Regions from separate parts of the Homo sapiens genome. Here region 2 is linked to region 1. The links are contacts of gene promoters, found by promoter capture Hi-C in human tissues and cell types (Jung and others, 2019). All regions are on one chromosome and are shown on one strand. Each heading gives the region's core, a stretch centred on a gene start or on the middle of the fragment in contact. The rest is flanking DNA. Distances are from core to core; before and after follow the strand shown.

The links. The method cuts DNA at HindIII sites, captures the fragments that hold promoters and counts their contacts. A contact is called where the count stands out against the background at its distance.
Region 2: a fragment that was not itself captured here is called in contact with the fragment with the promoter of IRF7 in region 1 in 1 of the 25 tissues and cell types used here (lymphoblastoid cells).

The regions. Positions count from the first base shown.
Region 1 is chr11:614,674-617,199 of GRCh38, reverse strand. It overlaps IRF7 (interferon regulatory factor 7), which reads left to right and starts at 1,250. Exons shown (of 11, transcript NM_001572.5): 1 at 1,250-1,287; 2 at 1,553-1,855; 3 at 1,941-2,103; 4 at 2,193-2,403. The coding sequence starts at 1,836. CDHR5 (cadherin related family member 5) reads left to right here. Exons shown (of 15, transcript NM_021924.5): 15 at 1-617. RefSeq lists an enhancer at 1,794-2,388. The HindIII fragment of the contact is 18,510 bases long and covers 1-2,526 here.
Region 2 is chr11:250,703-255,256 of GRCh38, reverse strand. It overlaps PSMD13 (proteasome 26S subunit, non-ATPase 13), which reads right to left. Exons shown (of 13, transcript NM_002817.4): 10 at 4,392-4,454; 11 at 3,631-3,711; 12 at 3,321-3,437; 13 at 2,273-2,752. The coding sequence ends at 2,657. It also overlaps the pseudogene COX8BP. Among named protein-coding and RNA genes, the nearest start is that of PSMD13, 16 kb to the right of the region's middle. The HindIII fragment of the contact is 4,358 bases long and covers 101-4,458 here.

The DNA of each region.
Region 1 (2,526 bases), core at 1-2,500:
CCCCTGTCGTCATTAGCGCTTGAGCCCAGGTGTGCAGATGAGGCGGTGGGTCTGGCCACGCTGTCCCCACCCCAAGGCTGCAGCACTTCCCGTAAACCACCTGCAGTGCCCGCCGCCTTCCCGAGGCTCTGTGCCAGCTAGTCTGGGAAGTTCCTCTCCCGCTCTAACCACAGCCCGAGGGGGGCTCCCCTCCCCCGACCTGCACCGGAGATCTCAGGCACCCGGCTCATCTCAGACCTCCCGCTCCCGACCCTACACAGAGATTGCCTGGGGAGGCTGAGGAGCCGATGCAAACCCCCAAGGCGACGCACTTGGGAGCCGGTGGTCTCAAACACCTGCCGGGGGTCCTAGTCCCCTTCTGAAATCTACATGCTTGGGTTGGAGCGCAGCAGTAAACACCCTGCCCAGTGACCTGGACTGAGGCGCGCTGGGGGTGGGTGCGCCGTGTGGCCTGAGCAGGAGCCAGACCAGGAGGCCTAGGGGTGAGAGACACATTCCCCTCGCTGCTCCCAAAGCCAGAGCCCAGGCTGGGCGCCCATGCCCAGAACCATCAAGGGATCCCTTGCGGCTTGTCAGCACTTTCCCTAATGGAAATACACCATTAATTCCTTTCCAAATGTTTTAATTGTGAGAGTATCTGATATTCTTGACTGAACAATGTAAAAAACCCAAAGGGGGCTGCGCACGGCGGCTCTCGCCTAAATCCCAGCACTTTGGGAGGCCGAGGTGGGCAGATCACCTGAGGTCGGGAGTTCGACACCAGCCTGACCAACATAGAGAAACCCCGTCTCTACTAAAAATACAAAATTAGCCGGGCGTGGTGGTTCATGCCTGTAATCCCAGCTACTCGGGAGGCTTAGGTAGGAGAATCACTTGAACCCGGGAGGCGGAGGTTGTGGTGGGCCAAGATTGTGCCACCGCACTCCAGCCTGGGTAACAAAAGCGAAACTCCATCTCAAAAAAAGAAACGCAAACGGTGCAGCTGCCCCTTTTTCGAGGCACGTCCACCTCCCATTACCCACTTCCTTTTTTTTTTGAGACTGAGTCTTGCTCTGTCCCCTGGGCTGTAGTGGAGTGGCTCCATCTCGGCTCACTGCAGCCACTCCCAACGCCCTCCACTCCTCCCTACTCCGCGCTGGCCGGGGCGGGGTTCCGCTGGTCGCATCCAATAATAAGAACAGGCGGCGCGCGCCCTTCCCGGAAACTCCCGCCTGGCCACCATAAAAGCGCCGGCCCTCCGCTTCCCCGCGAGACGAAACTTCCCGTCCCGGCGGCTCTGGCACCCAGGTACTGGGGACCCCAGACCCACGCGGTGCAGGCCGGGAGCGAGAGCCTCCGTGGGGGCTCCGTGACCCCGGAGGGGTAGAGCCAAGAGCTGGGGGAGCCTGAGAGATGAGGGTCGGGCGGGGAGGGAGGCGGAGGCGGAGGCGGGGTTCCGCGGAGCTGAGAACCGGACGGGGTGGGATCGAGGAGGGTGCGAAGCGCCACTGTTTAGGTTTCGCTTTCCCGGGAGCCTGACCCGCCCCTGACGTCGCCTTTCCCGTCTCCGCAGGGTCCGGCCTGCGCCTTCCCGCCAGGCCTGGACACTGGTTCAACACCTGTGACTTCATGTGTGCGCGCCGGCCACACCTGCAGTCACACCTGTAGCCCCCTCTGCCAAGAGATCCATACCGAGGCAGCGTCGGTGGCTACAAGCCCTCAGTCCACACCTGTGGACACCTGTGACACCTGGCCACACGACCTGTGGCCGCGGCCTGGCGTCTGCTGCGACAGGAGCCCTTACCTCCCCTGTTATAACACCTGACCGCCACCTAACTGCCCCTGCAGAAGGAGCAATGGCCTTGGCTCCTGAGAGGTAAGAGCCCGGCCCACCCTCTCCAGATGCCAGTCCCCGAGCGCCCTGCAGCCGGCCCTGACTCTCCGCGGCCGGGCACCCGCAGGGCAGCCCCACGCGTGCTGTTCGGAGAGTGGCTCCTTGGAGAGATCAGCAGCGGCTGCTATGAGGGGCTGCAGTGGCTGGACGAGGCCCGCACCTGTTTCCGCGTGCCCTGGAAGCACTTCGCGCGCAAGGACCTGAGCGAGGCCGACGCGCGCATCTTCAAGGTGGGGACCCCAGCCCCGCCCCGCCCCGGGTGGGAGAGCCCGCCTAGGACCCCGCGGGCCCGGCACACGTGTTCTGTCCCCCTCTTCAGGCCTGGGCTGTGGCCCGCGGCAGGTGGCCGCCTAGCAGCAGGGGAGGTGGCCCGCCCCCCGAGGCTGAGACTGCGGAGCGCGCCGGCTGGAAAACCAACTTCCGCTGCGCACTGCGCAGCACGCGTCGCTTCGTGATGCTGCGGGATAACTCGGGGGACCCGGCCGACCCGCACAAGGTGTACGCGCTCAGCCGGGAGCTGTGCTGGCGAGGTGAGCGACGCCGGCTGCCAAGGGCGTTGGCATTCGTCCTGCTTGGGCAAAGGGGAACATTCTCTGGGTCAGATTTGTGGTTTTAGAAGCTGTTCTGGGAGAGGCTGCCAGCAGGCCCAGGAC
Region 2 (4,554 bases), core at 1,030-3,529, 360 kb after region 1:
TTTTAGCTTTTTTCATCATCATAAATTGTCAGCATTATTTTTTTACAGTTCACTATGCTCTCATTTTATCCTTGCATCATTTCAATACTGAAGATATAAATTAGAACACTTATACAGTGTTCTAATTTGTTTTAGGCATTTTTTGCAAAACTGACTCCACAGAAGTGCATTACCACAATGTTGTCTGTGTGTGTAGGTAAAAATGGGATATTTCCTCAATAAATGAAGAGATGTCCTTTTTGTACATCTGCATTTGTGAAAAATTTCTCTAGATCTTGGTTTTTTTGGTGACTGGCTATGTGGTGGTGAACTGTTGCGGTTCTAGATTGAGCCTGTTAGAAGGCGTAGGTTGTTCATCCTGGCTTTTCGGAAGACTGCAGTTATGAACCTGGGCGCACGCAATTCCCACCCGAGCGGTAGGTGTTCATGCATTTCCCCTCTCAACACATTTCTTTACGAATACAGCTCATCTGTGCATAACTGTCATTGGTATGACTGTTTACACTTGCAGAAACATGGATATTATTATTGTCTATTTTATTGTGTGAAGTGGCCTATGATGTGTTCTGTCATATGTCATGTTTTTATGTTTCTCAAATAAATCCCCTTTAAAAATGTAAATAGATGGCCAGGCGTGGTGGCTCATGCCTGTAACCCCAGCACTTTGGGAGGCTGAGGCGGGCGGATCACCTGAGGTCAGGAGTTTGAGACCAGCCTGACCAACATGGAGAAACCCCATCTCTACTAAAAATACAAAATTAGCCAGGTGTGGTGGCAGGCGCCTGTAATCCCAGCTACTCAGAGGGCTGAGGCAGAATTGTTTGAACCCAGGAGGTAGAGGTTGCAGTGAGCGGAGATGGTGCCATTGCACTCCAGCCTGGGCAACAAGAGTGAAACTCCGTCTCAAAAATAAAAAAATGAAAAAAAAGTAAATAAATATCTTTTAAATAATTTTAAAATTATTTTTTCCAGAAATATATTTTCAGAATTTTGATTTTTCGGGATTTCAGCATGCAGAATTGTGTCTCTCTGGGCTGTGATCAGCTCATGTCTGGGATGAGGCAGGAGCCTTGGTGGGGTGCAGGGAGAGCAGATGAGGGTAGGAGCAGGACCAGCAAGGCAGGCAGTGGTCAGAGCACTCAGGCCTTGGGGGTGAGTGAAGCCTGTTGGAGGATGCTGAGCAGCGGCAGCAACAAGACCTGATTGTTCTGGAAGACTGTCTGGGCTGCTGTGTGGAGGAGCGGTTATGGAGGACAGGTTTGAGGCTGGACTTAGGGAGGGTGGGGAGTCAGCGGGCTCGATGTACACATGAGTGTCTGAGGGAAATGGAGGCTCACACTAAGACATTTGGCCTGAGCAGCTGAGAGGGGCTGCGGAAGGTTGAAGGGTGCACCACAGGGCCTTGGGAACTTGACAGTGAGGTGGGTATAAAGGCTAGTGGTCAATAGATCCCAGCAATTGTGACTGACGAGGAACAGCTGGGGTGTCAGGCCATCTGGACCAGGGCCAAACGAGGTCTGGAGAGGGTGGGTGGAAAGACCGAGAGGGGTCTGGGGCCATGAGGTCAGGCGAGGCCTGGACGAGGTGGAAAAAACCAGGAGCTCAGACACCAGCAACCAAAGAGGAAAAGGCTGGAGAAGATGCCGGACAACTGTTCTTTGCCAGCCTAGCAGACTTGTGGGTGCTTTCCTCCAACAGGAGCAGGCCGTGGGGCTCTCACATTCATCAGCTTCCTGGTTCCTGGAGGCTGGGTCTCACCCGACCTGGAGAGCTGCAAGAGCTCCATGCTGTCACTGCAGGCCCAGGACTGAAAGATCACATTAAACTGTCCTTCCACCTAATGTTCACTCTGTGATTCTTTGTGTACGTGCACCTCCACTCCCAGACGGGGAACCTCAAGGTGGTTTCCTTTACATGCCCAGTCCCAGGGATGGCTCATGTCCGCACTGGGGCACACCAGGTCACAGATGCTGGTGGCTATTTGAATGATGAGTGGTGACAAGGATGTGGATGGATGCCTGTGTCGGGGCAGGTACCTGAGAGGGCTGGAGAAGGGAGTGGATACCCCTAGGTCTCTCTTGACTAACAATAAAGATAGGACCAGCGTCTTCGTTAGTCCTTGGTGCTGGATTCTGCCCGTCTACTGTATGTGCAGGGAGGAGAAGGGCCAAGGCTACCCCCACCGTGTCTTCCCAAGGTTCCAACTCATGCTTTTTAACCTCCAGGCACAGGCTTGGCCTGGAAGCTAAGCCCAAGAAAACAGAGCCACAAGAAGAACAAAGCAGAGGGGTTTATTATAGGAACATTCTCAAACCGCAACGGAAAAGATGTCCGTACAGGTGGATGGGGATGGAGATCCACCTCGGAGTACACAGACTTCAGGGGGCCTCCTGCCTGGCACGTTCTTTCTCTCCCGTATCACCTAAGACCCTGAGACCCCCACCCTCTGCAGGAGAGACCCACAAAGAAGCCTCCTCCCTGTGGCCTGGCTCCCATCAGGGACAGTCCTGTTTTTAGAGCAAGAACAGTCTGTACTTCAGACAGGATCCCAACCCCCACCCAAATTCAATGTCGACCGTCTGAGCAGCCAGCTTCATTGGCTGCAAACGCCTCTCTCAGGTGAGTCAAAGGAGACACGACGGGGAACCAGGGGGCCCTAGGTGAGGATGTCATGGGCCTGGTGCTCCACCAGCATCTCCATGCTCTTCACATCCGTGCACCAGAACTCCAGGCGGTCCTTCATTCCCTTGATCTGAAATGGAAATCCGGACACAAGGGACGTTAAGACACGCAGGAGACACAGGCCGAGCGGCCGGCACAGCACCTGATGGGGTGACTCTACATCTCCAGCTAACTCTCTAGGGCAGCTCTAGTAAAAAGGACCTCTGAGCTGGGGGAGTGGGACGGGACTTGCCGGGTTAATTCTTTTCACAGGAACGTTAGAAAAAACTTGCATGAAAGAAAGCAGACAAGGACAGAGGAAATCCACAGGATCGCATTTCCAGCAAATGTAAGAGCGACGTGAGCTCAAATCACAGAACCAGGAACGTATCTGATCAGAGCTCCTATCTTAAGATTAAAAGGCACCGTCAGCACAACCAGTGCCATTGTCATCATAAGCTTTTAAATGCAGGGTTCAAACCCTAGGCTTGCATTAAATTAGGCTCTTAGAAAAACCCAACAGCAGTATTTCCTTCTCCAAAACCTCTTGTCTAATAATGCTGTCTTCCCAAATGGCTTCCATCCAAATGAAACTAAGACGGTATAGACACAACCCCTCAAAATCCACAGAGGTGAATAATGGGTTTCAAACACATCACCTGTTGCAAATCCAACACTCGGGGCTGCACCCAGGTCATGTGGACTCGTTTGTCCACCTCGTCTATACTGCCTTTCACCAGCCCCACCGAAAGGGCCTTCATCACCAGAAGCTCCACCTGTGCAGAGAGGGAGGCGTGTGTAAGACAAGATAGCCTGACACACCCCCATGGACCCAGATGGCTTGTGAGAAGCAGATGCCGCTCCTCCCGTCATTTTTTACTGTCTAGGGAGCACAGCGCTCACACAAGAGCCTTGACTCCTCCATGTGGCAGCTTTGCTGCTCTAACACCCTGAGCCTAGGGACCGTACCTCATTCACTGTGATTTTAGCACTTTTGGCAATTTCTTCAAAAGTGAGTTGTCTGTGATTGGCAGGTCGTGTGAAAGTCATCTGGAAAAAATTTTATTAACTATTTTAAACTATTTTTCCAAATAAAAATAGAGAACTGATAAGGATGTTTTGTCAATATTGGCTCTGAAAATAGAGATCTTATTAGTACCCCACATACTAAAAAGTTTCCTAATATTAGACATATATCTTGTTAAGAACAAGCTTTTAATGCTTAGATAAGAAGGATAACAGCAAAATGCCTTACAGGAGTTTCTGACAGTAGCCATTGTTCAATCCCCGAACAAGTACTTGAGGCCACAATTTGCCAGGGTTGACCAGGGGTGACCACGGCAAACCAGAAATCTAAGGGCCACTTCCTGACGAAGCTTAAGTTCTAGTGGGGAAAGACAGATGTGCGTGTACACAAGAAGCGACATGCAATGAGGCAACAACTGCATCACGGGGAGAGGGGCAGCTACTTCATCTCAGTTCAGATGGTCAGGGAAGGCCTCAGGGTGGTGGCAGTGGGGTGGGAGGGTGTCGTCTGAGCTAAGAGCCAAATATAAACTTAGAAGAGCAAGTGGTAGCAAAGGAAAAGGAAGGTGGTGAAGAGAGCGGCGCACAGCAGAAGCAGCACCACTGAAAGCTCACACTGCTCAGCACAGGCTTGGAGAGTGCAGCGCCCCCACCTGACCAAAATCTGAAACCACAGACAAAGTGGCTCCTGGGTGTTCGCTTACCTCCATGAGGCACAACAACTGAATTTTCCTCAGAAGCTGGGCTTCATTAGCTGCTAAATCAGGCTGTAAAGTATAGAAAGACAGAAAAATGTCTTCCATGTTTGTGCTTATCAGTTACTTAACTGGGGATCTGGAATTCGTTCTATAACAGTAGACCCAACAA